2 separate regions of the Homo sapiens genome follow, and region 2 is linked to region 1. The links are contacts of gene promoters, found by promoter capture Hi-C in human tissues and cell types (Jung and others, 2019). All regions are on one chromosome and are shown on one strand. The core of a region is centred on a gene start or on the middle of the fragment in contact, and the rest is flanking DNA. Distances in the headings are between cores, read along the strand shown. Region 1 holds the start of MISP (mitotic spindle positioning). Region 2 holds the start of FGF22 (fibroblast growth factor 22).

Evidence for each region. The method cuts DNA at HindIII sites, captures the fragments that hold promoters and counts their contacts. A contact is called where the count stands out against the background at its distance.
Region 2: a contact is called between the fragment with the promoter of FGF22 here and the fragment with the promoter of MISP in region 1, in 1 of the 25 tissues and cell types used here (lymphoblastoid cells).

The regions. Positions count from the first base shown.
Region 1 is chr19:746,640-754,051 of GRCh38, reverse strand. MISP (mitotic spindle positioning) reads right to left here and starts at 2,940. Exons shown (of 5, transcript NM_173481.4): 1 at 2,881-2,940. PALM (paralemmin) reads right to left here. Exons shown (of 9, transcript NM_002579.3): 9 at 5,723-7,412. The coding sequence ends at 7,238. The HindIII fragment of the contact is 28,409 bases long and covers 1-7,412 here.
Region 2 is chr19:636,592-644,003 of GRCh38, reverse strand. It overlaps FGF22 (fibroblast growth factor 22), which reads right to left and starts at 4,125. Exons shown (of 3, transcript NM_020637.2): 1 at 3,865-4,125; 2 at 666-769; 3 at 1-594. The coding sequence starts at 4,078. The coding sequence ends at 400. It overlaps LOC105372234 (a long non-coding RNA gene), which reads right to left. Exons shown (of 2, transcript XR_936226.2): 2 at 5,698-7,412. RefSeq lists a silencer at 3,953-4,442 and enhancers at 4,784-5,509, 6,884-6,943. The HindIII fragment of the contact is 14,968 bases long and covers 1-7,412 here.

The DNA.
Region 1 (7,412 bases), core at 1,691-4,190:
GCCACCGTGTCCAGCAGACATCATCTTTCATAGTTGAGGAAAGGAAGCCTCACCTGAAGACACAGGGATCTCAAAAGCTTGAGCTCCTGACTCCTAAAAAAAGCACTGTCGGCTGGGCACAGGGGCTCAGGCCTGTAATCCCAGCTACTTGGGAGGCTGAGGTGGGAGAATCACTTGAACCTGTGAGGTGGAGGTTGCGGTGAGCTGAGATTGTGCCATTGCACTCCAGCCTGGGTGACAGAGAAAGACCCTGTCTCAAAAGAAAAACAAACCCCCACAAAGCAGGACTGTCGCTCCCGGGCCACCAAGGCTATTATTTAGATCTGCTGCCTTTACACCAACCAGCAGCATTTTTTTTTGTTTTTAAACAGACAGGGTCGGCCAGGCACAGTGGCTCACACCTGTAATCCCAGCACTTTGGCGGATCACGAGGTCAGGAGATCGAGACCATCCTGGCTAAAATGGTGAAACCCCATCTCTACTAAAAATACAAAAAAAATTAACCGGGTGTGCTGGCGGGCGCCTGTAGTCCCAGCTACTCAGGAGGCTGAGGCAGGAGAATGCTGTGAACCCGGGAGGTGGAGCTTGCAGGGAGCTGAGATCGCACCATTGCACTCCAGCCTGGTGACAGAGCTAGACTCCGCCTCAAAAAAAAAAAAAAAGAAAAAAAGAAAAAAAAAGAAAAACTTAGCCCCTCTCTGAACTGGAAAGTGGCATCAAACAGCATAAAGTGGAGAGACCGTGGGGAGCCGTGTTGAAACTACACGCAATGTGTCATGCAATCTTCCGCGCGTATCAAATGTCAGAAACTAAAATAGGGGAAACATTGAAAACCAGGCGGCATTGGTGAATAAATCCCACACAAACAGCTGAGCTTCCTCCCAAAGCGTGACGCACAGATGGCTCCCCTGACCCGAGGCCTCCTCCTCCGTGGACGCCGCCTGCCCAGCTCACGGAAGGCCTTGCCTTCTCCCACCCGAAACCGTCAGCCCAGGCCTCGCTCTCGCCTGCTGTGGCCACAGGTCAGCACCCTTCCTGCAGCCCAGAGTCTGGTATACAGCAGGCGCCTAATAAATACTGGCTGGGCAAACACCACTCATCCCAGCTGCTCAGACGTGGGGGTCGGGCTCATTGCGGAATGCAGACCGGCTCCACCGTGCCTTCTGGCCCTGAAGGGCTGGGCAGGTCCACGCCCTGCACCCTGGAGCTCCCCGGGGAGGGCGGGTGTAGGAATGTTTGCCCAGTGAGTGGACAGACGTTTACACAGCGGGATTTATAACCCACATCAGACGTCAACTCCGGGAGAAAGGGAGCTGTCCGCCCAGCCTCGAGCAGGTGCCGGGTCTCCCAGTGGGGTCGGGGTTGGGTGGGGATGAAGGCACGCATCCTCCTCTGCTCATTCCTCCCCAGTGATTCACTGAAGCCAGCGGGTGGGGCCTGGGGTCCAGCTCTTGGGTTCAAGGCCACTGGGCCCCCTCCCCTGCTGCCTGTGCCTCAGTGCCCACCCCCGCCCCCCGCTTTTTTTTTTGAGATAGAGTCTCCCTCTGTCGCCCAGGCTGGAGTGCAGTGGCGCGATCTCCATTCACTGCAACCTCTGCCTCCCGGATTCACACCATTCTCCTGCCTCAGCCTCCCAAGTAGCTGGGACTACAGGCGCCCGCCACCACGCCCGGCTAAGTTTTGTATTTTTAGTAGAGATGGGGTTTCACTGTGTCGGCCAAAAAAACCCCTGGATCCACGGCGGCTCTCATGGCCGGCATTCTTGGGCAGCGGCGCTGCCCTCGGGGGAAGAGCCCCAGGACGGAAGATGGCCCCTGCAAGGCCCGGCGGTGGCTAAGGACCTCGGCGTCCTGAGACTCTTCCTGCAACACCTTGGAACCGTTTTCGACTCCGGTTTTCGAGAGAGGGAGCTGGGACCCAGAGAGGAGAACCTGCTCATCTGAGGTCACACAGCGATGACAGAGCAAGTGTCTGAAGCCAGTTTTCAGACTTTGCTCCAAATCACCCCCTCCTACAGGAAGCCCCCTGGGTTGCTCCTCCCAGCCTCACCCTGAACTCTGTTGATACCAGAATGAAACTGGGTTTATGGACCCTGGTGCCACACCTCCTTCCTCATCAGCCAGTTGGCTCTATGTGAGGGGCAAAGGTTCCCTTGTGGGGCCGAGACTCAGACAAGGAGGCCATGCAGAAGGGAGGGCCCCGTTCCTTTTTCCCATCCCTCAGGGTTGCAGTCACCCTTGAGTCATCTCAGCTCCTTGGGCTCCTGGGCGGAGCTCCACCGGCAGACGCTGGGCCGAGTCCCTGCTGGCTGCCCGGGATCCCAGGCTACCACCTCACCCCCACCCGAGGACCCAGGCCAAGTCCCCAGCCCCGGCCTGAGACTCCTTCCGCCTGTACTCAGCCACCCCTCCTCCGTGTCCCCAAACCAGCCCCCAGCCCCACGGGGGTGTTTACTGCCCAGAGCCTCCCAGTCAGGGGCCTGGTGGGACGGATAAGCATCTCTCCAGAAGCCTCTGGAATTCCCAGAACCATGGAGGGGCCCCTCTGGCCTCTGACCATGGGGGTGCCAACCCGGCCCCTCCCTTGGAGGGCTCTGGGATTTGGGGTTCAAAAGCCCCAGCAGAGTTCAGGGACAAGGGCCTCTCTGCTCTCCCAGTGGGTGCCCTTGAGGCCCCAGAGTACCTAGCGGGGGCAGAGGGAAAGGTGCCTCAGGGAGGCTCCGAGGGTGACGGGGTGGGGCAGGGGGCCTCCCTGGATCCCAAGTGCCGCCAGGCAAGCAGACCCCGCCCACAGACACATGACGCTCCCACGCCAAATGTGGATCCAACCGCCCCACACAGGATCCCCGCCCGGCCCGGCCCGGGGCGCCCCCAGCCTCACCTGCCGGCTCCCGGCTCCACAGTCTGCAGCCTCCACTCTGACTCCTCGATGGGCACAGAGGCCTCCCAGCTCCGCCCTGCCCGCCAGGTTGCCAGGGAACAGAGGCCCCACCCAGGGGAGGCAGGTGTGCCCCCTCCCCCCAGCCCCACCTGGGATCAGGAAACAAAGTCCAGAGGAGGAGGAGGGAGAAAGAGGATACCAGGCTGGGCAAGGGCGGGCACCGTGCCCGCTGCCGGCTGCCCCTCCACCCCCAGGGCCTCCAGGTGGCCCCGAGGAGCCAGAACTCAGCCGAAACCTCCCTTGGCTGCCTGGCCCTCCCACCGCCTCTCAGCACCGCTCAGAGAGGGTCAGCAGGTGTCCAGGGCCACACAGCAGCTCAGCGTGCACAGTGGCCTGTGTCTCCTGGGGGGCCGGAGGGGCTGAGTCCCAATCCCGTCCGTGCCTTCTGGCCCAGCCCACCCCTTGGGGCAACTCCCCTAGATGGCCCCCTTCTTGCATAAACCAGGTTTGGCAGACTCGGGGGGGTTTGGTGTGGCCTGGGTTCTGATCCCACCTGACCTCTCTTAGCCCTGTTTTCTCCTCCGGGACGTGGGGGAACATCACGCCCGGGCTCCCTCAGGGCTGCTGGGAGGAATTCCCTAGGCCCCATCCACATAAAAACCCATACGAGGGGGCCGGACTTGGTGGCTCACACCTGTAATCCCAGCACTTTGGGAGGCCGAGGCGGGCGGATCACTTGAGGCCAGGAGTTCGAGACCAGCCTGGCCAACATGGCGAAACCCCGTCTCTACTAAAAATACAAAATTTAGCGGGGTATGGTGGCACGCTATTATAATCCCAGCTACTTGGGAGGCTGAGGCAGAAGAATCACTTGAACCCAGGAGTTGGAGGTTGCAGTGAGCCGAGATCACACCACTGCACTCCAGCCTGGGCGACAAGAGCAAAACTCCAACTCAAAAAAAAAAAAAAAAAAAAAAAAAAAAGAACCGCACGAGGCCGTCAAAAGACCCAGGCCACCCCGAGAGATGGGGACGCAGAGGCCCTCAGGCGCCCATGGTCCTCCTGGATTCTTAGTCAAGGTGCAGAGGCCTTGCTGGGACTGTGGGGAGCCCAGCATCTGTGGGGAAGTCGGGCCACTGGGCCTAGCGCCGTCTATGAGGGCAGGGAACACAGCTGAGGGGGCAGGGACTTCAGTTCCCCAGGCTGGGGCTCTGTCCTGACCTACGCCAGAGGGGCTGCTTGTGGAGCCCCTCTGAACCTCAGTCTCTTCTTCGAGTAAAAAGGCCCCCAGCTACGAATCCAGCAGGGCTGCTCAGGAGGGGGGTGCTTTTTTTGTGTTTTTTTTTTGAGACGGAGTCTCGCTCTTGTCACCCAGGCTGGAGTGCAGTGGCACGATCTCGGCTCACGGCAACCTCCCCTGTTCAAGCAATTCTCCTGCCTCAGCTTCCCTAGTAGCTGGGATTACTGGCATGAGCCACCACGCCCAGCTATTTTTGTATTTTTAGTAGAGACAGGGTTTTGCCACGTTAGCCAGGCTGGTCTCGAACTCCTGACCTCAGGTGATGCCCCCGCCTCAGCCTCCCAAAGTGCTGGGATTACAGGCGCGAGCCACGGCGCCTGGCCAAGATGGGGGTGTTTAAGGACAAATCTGGATAAAGGGCCCCCAAAGGACAGCGTGGCACCTAACGCTGCTGGGTGTGTGAAAGCTCAGGGTGCGCGGCCTCACGGCGCCTCCCACCGCCGCCTCCCGCCACCCCCTTCACGTCCTTTTCTCCCTGGCTTGTAGATAGGGAAACGGAGGTACGGAAAGCTTAAAATCGCGCCTCAGGAATGGCGGGGGTTTAGGCTGGAATTGGAACCTGAGTTCCCTCAGCAGTGCTCTCCACCACACTCACCACCTCATCGGGGAAAACTGAGGCCCCAGCAGGGTGGAGGCTGGATCGCCCATGAGCTGGGGGCACTGTGGAGACGTCCCACGCCCAGGCTGAGGCTGGCCTCCCACTCAGGGCTCCGAAGGCCTATTTTATTTTATTTGAGACAGAGTCTCGCTCTGTCGCCCAGGTTGGAGTGCAGTGGCACGATCTCAGCTCACTGCAGCCTCCGCCTCCCAGGTTCAAGCGATTCTCCTGCCTCAGCCTCCTGAATAGCTAGGATTACAGGCGTGAGCCACCACGCCCGGCTAAGTTTTTGTATTTTTAGTAGAGACAGGGTTTCAGTATGTTGGCCAGGATGGTATCGATCTCTTGACCTTGTGATCCGCCCACCTCGGCCTCCCAAAGTACTAGGATTGCAGGTGTGAAACACCGTGCCCGGCCACGAAGGCTTATTTTACAGATGGGAAAACTGAGGCCCAGAGGAGGCAGCGACTTCTCCAAGACTACAGCGTGAGAGAGTGGGGCTGGCGGGGCAGCACCTTCCCGTGAGCATGACACTGGTCTCTACAGACACCTCCTCCCCAGGCCTCCTGTGTATTTCCCAGGGGCCGGCTTCTCTACAGAGCTTGTGGGTGTCCAGGGGACCCTCTGTCATCACCCAGGGGCTGTGAGCCCAGCAAAGGGAGGAACAAAGGACAGGACGGGGCGGCCGCAGAACCCGAGGGCCCCCCGGGAAGCCAGTCCTGCCCCCCCACAGCAGCCCCTTACAGCCAGGCCTTACCTGCACAGTGGGGATTCCAGCGCCTCCCACCACCCCAAGGCGCTCAGGGTGAGCGGGTGCAGGCAGGTGAAGCCAGCACACCGCAACCCTGCTCAGCCTCCCTTTAATGGCTCAAAGGCCGGCAGGCCCCACCCCCTGGCCTGGCCACGCCTTCCTCGCCAGGTTGAAAGGCAAGAACTCCAGGAACTGGGGCTGTTCACGCTGTTTATTTGCTTCTCTGGGAAAATCAAGAACATCGGGGGCCTCGTCACACACCAGAAGCAGAGGGGGTTATAGCAAGGGCACTTCAGCGAAGGCTCGCGGCTCGAGGGACTCAGGCAGACTCCAGGGAGGAGGAGGGGGTTCCACGGCTGACGCCCAGGTCACCCCCGAGAGGGCCTCTCCTCCCAGCCACCCAGGGGCAGAGCGGAGGCAGGGACCCAGGCTCCCATCCGAGGTGGCCCCTGTACCTGCCCTGCCGAGGCTGCAGGTGGTGACTGGACCAGGAGGTGGCCTGAGCACTGGGCACCAGGCTGGAGGTCCCTAGGGCAGGGACCAAGTTGGGGCCTGGTTGTCCAAAGCCAACGTGTGAGACGGTGTCTGTGAGAATGTGCACGAATGTGCCTCTGGGGACGAGTGTAGCTGCCCCCAGGAGGGAAGCCCCTTGCCACTTCCAATGAGAGGGGGCTGGGGGCAGGCTCACATTGGTCTGGGTGGCAAATGAGGGTCTCCTGCTCCAACCCAAGAGGCTTCCTGTCCCAGGCTGTGTCCCTCCCTCCACTGCCCGGACGTGCTCCAAGCCCAGTAGAGCTGGCAGGTGGGGCCTGATCTCGGGGTATGGTTGGGAAGACCCAGGACCCTGGTCCAAGCAGGATGGAGAAGAGGCCGGGGGCGGCCCCTGGGGTCCCCAAATTAGCACCAGGAGGAAGGAGGGCCCAGTGGGGGCGGGAGCTCGGGACAAGGAGTGGCTCACTCGGTCCCTGCCCTGTGCAGGGGGCAGGTCAATGACCCCTGGTTCGCCCCGTCTAGAAGATAGCCCAGGGGTTACCGGCCCCTCCCGGGTGGGGGCATGTCCCCGGGGTTCCCCCTCCCCCAGACTCCATTGTCCACTGGTTGGGCCCACACAGGGCATAGGGGCACAGCAGAGGGGCCTGTCCTCCACCCAAGACCTTTAGCCCCCAAAGAGGCACGGCCTCACCCCAACTGCCTGAGATTGGGGGGCCAGCGCCTTGGCCAGGGAACCCCATAGAGCCTCACTTCCAGGGCCTGAGCAGGCCTCAGTACCCACCCCCGGCTCCCGGGGCCCTCTCTGGCGGGGTGTCCCCTCAGAGAAAGGCACAGGTAGGAGGCCCAGAGGGTGGCAGGCTGGCCTGGGCCGCGTGGAGGCTGCGGGTCCCACCCGCCAGGACCCCGGTGGGCGCGAGCCGCGTCTGTGAAGCTGCCGTGACATGGGGGGTCCTTGTCTCGGGAAAAGCGGGTCTGTCCTGTCTCTCTCCTACCAGGCACAAGTGCACGGCTCTGGTTCGGGGGGAGTGTTGGGGCGTGGTGACGGGTGGGGGCCCCTGTCCCTCTTTCCAGCGAAAGAAAACTCGGAAGGAACATGTAACAACACGCCAAGTCCTGGACCCGTGAGGCTGTGGGTGGAGGGTGGGCAGGCGCCGGGAGGGGCCGGGCTGGTGGGTGTCTGTGGTGTGGGGTGGGGGCCGGGGTCTCGGGGGCCGGCTCACATGATGGAGCAGCATTTACAACGGTGCTTCTTCATGTCGAGGTCCTGGGGGTCGCTGGTGGTGGCCTCGGGCCCCGCCTGATTCTCTTCCCTGGAGGCGGCCTCCGTGGGAGGCTCGGCAGCACTGCCGTTGGGTGGTGCAGGCTCCTTGGGCTCAGCCGCGTCTTCGATG
Region 2 (7,412 bases), core at 2,876-5,375, 110 kb after region 1:
CGGCTTCGAGGCTGGTGTTCTGCGGCGTCTGTCACCGTCTCCCCGGCCCCCTCCCCTCCCCTCCGCTCCTGCCCCCACTCCCAACGTGCTCCCCACCCCGAGCCCCTGCCTCTGCCGGGCCCTGCCTGGGACGTCCCCCTCGACCTTTCGACGTCTGCGTCCTTCAGCCCGAGAGGCGCCCTGTTGGGTCCTCGAGGTCCCCAACTCAGGATTGAACCTGCTTGGTGGCCACCACCCCCTCAGGCTGGGACCCCCCTGGAGGGCTCCTGGGCTGTGTCCACAGCGCCCGCACACGGTGGGCACTCAGCGCTTACAGAGCCCGCAGGGGGAAGAACAAGCGTGGCCGGGCCCCTCGCCACCAGCCCAGGCACCTTGGGGAGCCGCCGGCCTCTCAGGGCCTCAGGAGACCAGGACGGGCAGGAAGTGGGCGGACAGGTGGTACCGCCGCGTCCGGCCGCCTGGCCGGGGCCCCCCCCTCCTGTCCAGCGCCAGGAACATGGGCTGGCCGCGGCGGCGCCAGCGCTGTGAGGCGTAGGTGTTGTGGCCGTTCTCTTCGATGCGCTCCCGGAACCTGCAGTCCACGGTGTAGAGTCGCTGCGGGCGGGGGTGAGGCCGGCCCACCCTCCCCACCCTGCCCGCGCCGCCCAGCCCTGCCCGGCACTCACCGACCCGTAGAGGCGGCCCCGGCGGTTCATGGCCACGTAGAAGCCTGAGGACACTGCTTTGATGACCACGACGCCCACGTGTACAGAGCGGATCTCCAGGATGCCTGGGGGAGGCGGGGGTCGGGGAGGGCCTTGCTGGCTCACCCCCAGCACCGCTGCTGTCCGCTGTGCTTCGTGCAGGGCCCTCAGGACCACGACAGATACCAGGAGACCCCCGGGACCACGAGTCCCCTCCCGACCACGACGGACACTCAGGATCCCCCAGAGCCGTGACTGACACCAGGAGCCCCCCCCAGCATGTGAGGGAGGAGCAAGGAGCAGGCAGAGGGAACGGGAAGCAGGACGGCCCCCACGAGCTGGGGGAGTGCAGAGATCGATGAGGACCCCGTGGGAGGGCCAGGTCAGCGCTGTCCCTGCAGCTCAGCCCAAGAGCAGCATCTGTGTGTGTGTATGGCGGGGGGGCTCCCACACACCCAGAGGGACGGACGTCAGGGGGGCAGCAACACCACGAGGAAGGTTGGGAAAGGGTTCCTGGGATGTGGGAGTCAGAAGGGGCAGGGCCCACCCAGACCACTGATAACTGTCAATGAGCCAGCGACCAGCAGCACCCCAGGGAGCCCCCAGCCCGGCCCTCAGAGCTCACACCACCCCATATGGAGCCCCCAGCCCGGCCCTCACAGCTCACACCACCCCAGAGACCCCCCAGCCCGGCCCTCAGAGCTCACACCACCCCAGGGAGCCCCCAGCCCGGCCCTCACAGCTCACACCACCCCAGGGACCCCCCAGCCCGGCCCTCACAGCTCACACCACCCCATATGGAGCCCCCAGCCCGGCCCTCACAGCTCACACCACCCCATATGGAGCCCCCAGCCCGGCCCTCACAGCTCACACCACCCCAGAGACCCCCCAGCCCGGCCCTCACAGCTCACACCACCCCAGGGACCCCCCAGCCCGGCCCTCACAGCTCACACCACCCCATATGGAGCCCCCAGCCCGGCCCTCACAGCTCACACCACCCCATATGGAGCCCCCAGCCCGGCCCTCACAGCTCACACCACCCCATATGGAGCCCCCAGCCCGGCCCTCACAGCTCACACCACCCCATATGGAGCCCCCAGCCCGGCCCTCACAGCTCAGCTGCCCGGCCCACGCACAGTCACTGGGACTCCGGACTGGGACTCTGGACTGGAGGCCGGGCTGGCAGTGGCCTAGAGTGGGACACCGGTGGTTTATGGGACACCACAGACATGCTTGAGCGCCGACTGTATGCCAGCTGTCCTACCAAGCCCGCTCAGCAGCCCACGTTGCAGAGGGGCCAGTTGAGGCCTGGGAGTGGCAGAGCCAGATTTGGACGCCATCGTCTGTGGGTAGCCCTGGGTGAGCCCTGCCCCACCCTGAGCTGAAGTGTCTTGTCCAGCAAGGACCCTGGGGCCAGCCGCCACTCCTCACCCACACTCGCTCACCCCGGCCTGGGTGTCTGCCGCTTTGTCAGCTGGGTGTACAGTTCCCTGCGTGCCCGGCCAGCTCCCTGTCAAAGTGAAAGCTCCTCGGGGCAGCCTCCCAGCCCGACCTTCCAGGACACACAGGAACGTCTTTGAGGTGGTTGTTCTGGGGCGTCTGTGTCACGATCTCCCCTGGCCCCTTCCTCGCCCTGCACCTCCCCTCCCCTGGCAAGGTGCCTCCCAACACCGCCGTTCACTGTTCTGCGCACCCACCTGCACCCTTGTTCACGTCATTCACTGTTCTTTTTTTTTTTTTTTTTTTGAGACGGAGTCTCGCTCTGTCGCCCAGGGTGGAGGGCAGTGGCGCGATCTCAGCTCACTGCAAGCTCCACCTCCCGGCTTCACGTCATTCTCCTGCCTCAGCCTCCCGAGTAGCTGGGACTACAGGCGCCCGCCACCACACCCGGCTAATTTTTGTATTTTTGGTAGAGACGGGGTTTCACCGTGTTAGCCGGGATGGTCTCGATCTCCTGACCTCGTGATCTGCCCGCCTCGGCCTCCCAAAGTGCTGGGATTACCGACGTGAGCCACTGCACCCGGCCAACCGTTCACTGTTCTGTGCACCCACCTGCGCCCTTGTTCACGTGTCTAACTGCTGCGCGCCTCTGCTCTGGGAGCCCCAGGAGGGTGGGCGTCTCTGTCACCACTGGGTCCCCCATGCGGAGCACAGCACCCACAAGGTGCCCGATTAGTGACCAGCGAATGCACGAAGGGCAGGAGAGCCCTCAGCTAGCCCTCACCCCCATCACCGTCCAGCTGGGGAAACCGAGGCTTGGAGAGAGGCAGAGACTGTTCCAGGTCAGGCAGCGGAGCCAGGCCTCTGCCCCGGCCCGAGGCCACCCCGCCTGGCCATGCCCGCCATGGATGGACCGGCCCAGCCAGTCCCCTGTCCGCCCTCGTCACGTGCGGCCTAATGAGGGCCTTGGCGCCCAGATGAAAGCGGTGGGAAGGACAGGGGGTGATTACCTGCCCTGATGGTGGTGATTCAGGCGGCAGCCAGCGGGCCCGGGCCCCCTTCCCAGTGCCCCCCGCCCGGCGGGGACACCGACTCCCCTGGCCTCCAGGTACCCACATCCCCTGCTGTGCCCAGCCTCTCCTCTTGCTCCTGACATTCCACAAACACTGAGGGCCTACCTCAGTGTGCTCGGCAGACCCTGGGGACAGAGACGCCCGCTCCGTGACGTCCTGGGCCCTGTGGGGACCCAGCTCCGCCACCCCTGTCAGTGTGACCCTGGGCAGGTCCCATCCCTTCTGTGTGCCTCCTTGTCCTCACCTGCCAGATGGGGTGTCTGGGAAGAAGCAGAGGGGGCCCCGACTCAGGCAGCCCTGACTGGATTCTGTGATGTCAGGAGTCCGGAGGTCAGCCCCCCGCCGCTTCCGCCATGCAGCTGGGCCTGCCCCAGCCCCTCTGGAGCCTCAGTTTCCCACCTGCAGATGGGTGGCCCCACCCACAGGGTTGTACCACACGGACGCTTCTCTGCCCCTGAGCCGGGTCCGCCGCTGCAGCCTTCGCTTTAACAGTGCAACCCTCCCACCAGGCAGGCTGCACCCATCTCACAGACCACGGAAACTGAGGCCGAGGCTGCACAGAGGAGCCTCCGGGACTCCCCCGCGGGCGCAGGTCACCGTGAAGACGGCGGCCGCGTTGCCGTCACCCGCCGCCTCCCCACCCCAGGCCCCCGCCGCCCCGCACTCACTGTCCTGGCCGTGGCGCCAGCGGGTGCCCTGCACGCGGCCGCCGGGATCCACGCGCAGGAAGAAGTGAGTGGAGGAGAAGAGGCGCCGCCAGCGCACGTCGCCCTCCAGGTGCGGGTAGCTGCGCGGTCCCCGCGACGCGCTCGGGGTTCCCGCGGCGTCCGGCGCCCGCGCCAGCAGCAGCCAGGCCAGGCCCAGCCACAGGCGGCGGCGCATGACCCGGCACCCGGTTCGCTGCGCGCTCGTCGCTCCCGGGCGTCCGCGGCTCTGCCTTCGCGCGGCGGGGCCAATGGGGCGCCTCGGGGGCGGGGCCGGGTTCGCTGGGGCGGGGACGCCGGCCAATGGGGTGCCTCGGGGCGGGGGCGGGGTCCACTTGGGCGGGACCAGGCTAGGGCGCCGGCCAATGGGACGTCTCGGGGGCGGGGGCCAGGTGCACAGGGGCGCGGCCGTGCGGGACTCCGCGCTCGGCCTCCGCGCGTTTGTTGTTTGTCTCGCGGGGCGTGTCCGTGAGTCAGCCGAGTCCCCGGGCGGGCTAGGACCTCGGGTTGCGGGGGCGGGAGTGTGAGACGCGGGCCGCAGAGACCTGGAGGGAGACAGAGACCCGGAGGGAGACAGAGACAGAAAGACGGCGGCAGTCAAGAGACACAAGGAAGATGACCGGGAGAGACGAGAGAGACACAGAGACAGAGAGGGGCAGAGGCGGAGATGCTTGGGGACAGAGATGGACACGGGAGGTCCTGCCGCGTGCGTCAGCCGTGGGACCAGCCAGGCTCCGGGGCATGCCCTCGTGGGACTTCTCTCCCCGCAAATTGTAGTTTCCCGAAAGCCAGGCCCACAAGGGTGTGGGAATGCGCGGGTGGGTGGGCAGGTGACGACTGGGGACGTGTGTTTGGGCAGGTAGGTGGGCAGGAGGGAGGATAGCCACGTAGACCTGTCGGTGGCCGGCTGGCGGGGCACGTCGGAGGCGGCAGGAATGGGGCGGCCCCATTCGCACCCACACTTGCTCCTCCCTTAGAGCCATACCCCAGGCCCCACGGGGAACCACCCAGCAAGGCGGCTGGCCCCCACCCTTCCTCTGCCTGCCCCATGCGCTGGGCCCCAAAAGGTGAGCACAGTGACCCTCACAGACTCACAGCCAAGTGGAGGCATTGACAACTGGGGAAACCGAGGCCTGAGAGGGGCGGCGACCTCCGCTGTGGGGACACAGCTCCCAGCAGCCCAGTCCTGGCCCTGCGGCCACAGCCCCAGGTGGCACCCACCTTTAAATAGCACCAGGCTGAAGACATGGCGACCAGCCTGTCCTGCCGGGGAGCCCTCTGGAGGGATAACCGGTCTGGCTGGACGCTGGGATGCCTTCTTGGTGGCTCAGGCATCTCCTGACCCTCTCTTCCTGGCTTAGGCGGGTCACACAGAGGGTGTGGCAGGTGCCACAGTCTCAGGGACAGGGGTCCCCATGGCTGAGGTCCAGCCTGGCCTGGCTTCCCACACTAGAGCCCTGTGGCCAACACCCCAAGCTTCGGTTCCGCCTCTGTAAAATGGGCCAGTAAAGAGACGTCTGGAGGAAGACAATGAGACCCTCCACGGAGCACGCTGGGCAGAGGGCGCGGCACCAGACACTGAAGAAATGTCCACCGCCTTCTCGCCAGCAGGAGCCCAGGTCTTCCCTTCTTAGAGTGTCCGCCCCCCACCGCGGAAGGGTGATCTGAGGGCCTTGTGAGAAATGATGGGGATGGGACCCACAGCGGTGAGACTGGCCCCACCCCAGGCGTCTGAGTTTCTTTAATGACACCTCGGAAACATCACTCATATACCACACAATTCACCCACTTACACTGTACAGTTCAGTGATTTTATTTTATTATTATTTCTTTGAGACGGAGTCTGGCTCTGTCACCCAGACTGGAGTGCAGTGGTGCGATCTCGGCTCACTGCAAACTCTGCCTCCCTGGTTCAAGCGATTCTCCTGCCTCAGCCTCCTGAGTAGCTGGGATTACAGGCACCTGCCACCACACCCAGCTAATTTTTGTATTTTTAGTAGAGACAGAGTTTTACCATGTTGGCCAGGCTGGTCTCAAACTCCTGACCTCGTGATCTACCTGCTTCTGCCTCCCAAAGTGCTGGGATTACAGGCATGAGCCACTGCACCCAGCCAGTTCAGTGATTTTAGTACCTCGTAGAGTTGTGCAACCACCACGACTGTCTAGTTCCAGAAGATTCCATCACCGCAAGAAGAAGCCCCATCAGCTGTCACTCATCCCCTCTGCCAGCCCCCGGCACCCACACATCCCCTTCCTGCCTCTGTGGATGGGCCTGTTGTGGACATTTCATATAAAGGGGATCACACACTGTGTGTCCTTCTGTGTCTGGCGTCTTTCACTGAGCATGACATCCTCAAGGTGCATCCGCGCTGTGGCTGGGGCAGAGCCTTGCTCCTTTTCACGCCTGTAATCCCAGCTACTCAGGAGGCTGAGGCAGGAGAATCTATACAACCCAGGAGGCGGAGGTTGCAATGAGCTGAGATCATGCCACTGCCCTCCAGCCTGGGCGACAGAGCGAGACTCTGTCTCAAACAAAAACAACAACAACAAACACCGATCAGGGCTGGGCTGGCGCACGCTTTGTATTGAGTGGTGTCTTCCTCTTTGTAGCCTCTGTGGTTGGCCCAAAGGTAAGTCCCCACCCTGATCCCTAGAATGTGACATTTGCCTTATTTGGAAAAAGAGTCTCAATATATTGACACCATGAAGATCTGAACGATATGGAGAAGATTGTCCTGGGGCATCCTAAACGCGGTCACAATACGGAGACAGGAGGAGATTTCACACAGGCAGACGAGGAGGCTGCAGTGCGACCACAGAGACCGAGACGGGAGTGATGTGGCCGCAGGCCAAGCACACCTGGAGCCTTCAAAAGCTGGGAGAGGCAGGAAGGAGCCCCAGGGCCTCTGGAGGGAGCGAGGCCTCCACACACCTTGACTTCAGCCCCGCAGTCCTGATTTTGGACTTTTCATTTCCAGAAATGTAAGAAAATGAACGTTGCTTTAAGGCACCGAGTTTGTGGTAATTTGTCACAGGGGCTCCAGGGACCTGGGCCATCCCCTTCCATCTAGCGATTCTCGACTCTGTGGGGTTTGCTTGGTTGGGTTTTGTTTTGTTTTGTTTTTAGACAGAGTCTCGCTCTGTCGCCCAGGCCGGAGGGCAGTGGTGTGATCTCGGCTCCCTGCAACCTCCGCCTCCCGGGTTCAAGTGATTCTTCTGCCTCAGCCTCCTGAATAGCTGGGATTACAGGCACCCACCATGCCCGGCTAATTTTTGTTATTTTTATTGGAGATGAGGGTTTCACCATGTTAGCCAGGCTGGTCTCCAGCTCCCGGCCTCAGGGGATCCGCCCGCCTCGGCCTCCCGTAGTGCTGGGATGACAGGCGGGAGCCACCACGCCCGGCCAGATATATGGTTTCCCACTTTTGATGGTGATATTAAGTCTCTTCGTAAAACTTAAGCAAGAAAAATAATTAATGTTGTATTTATTAATTTATTTTTGAGACGGAGTC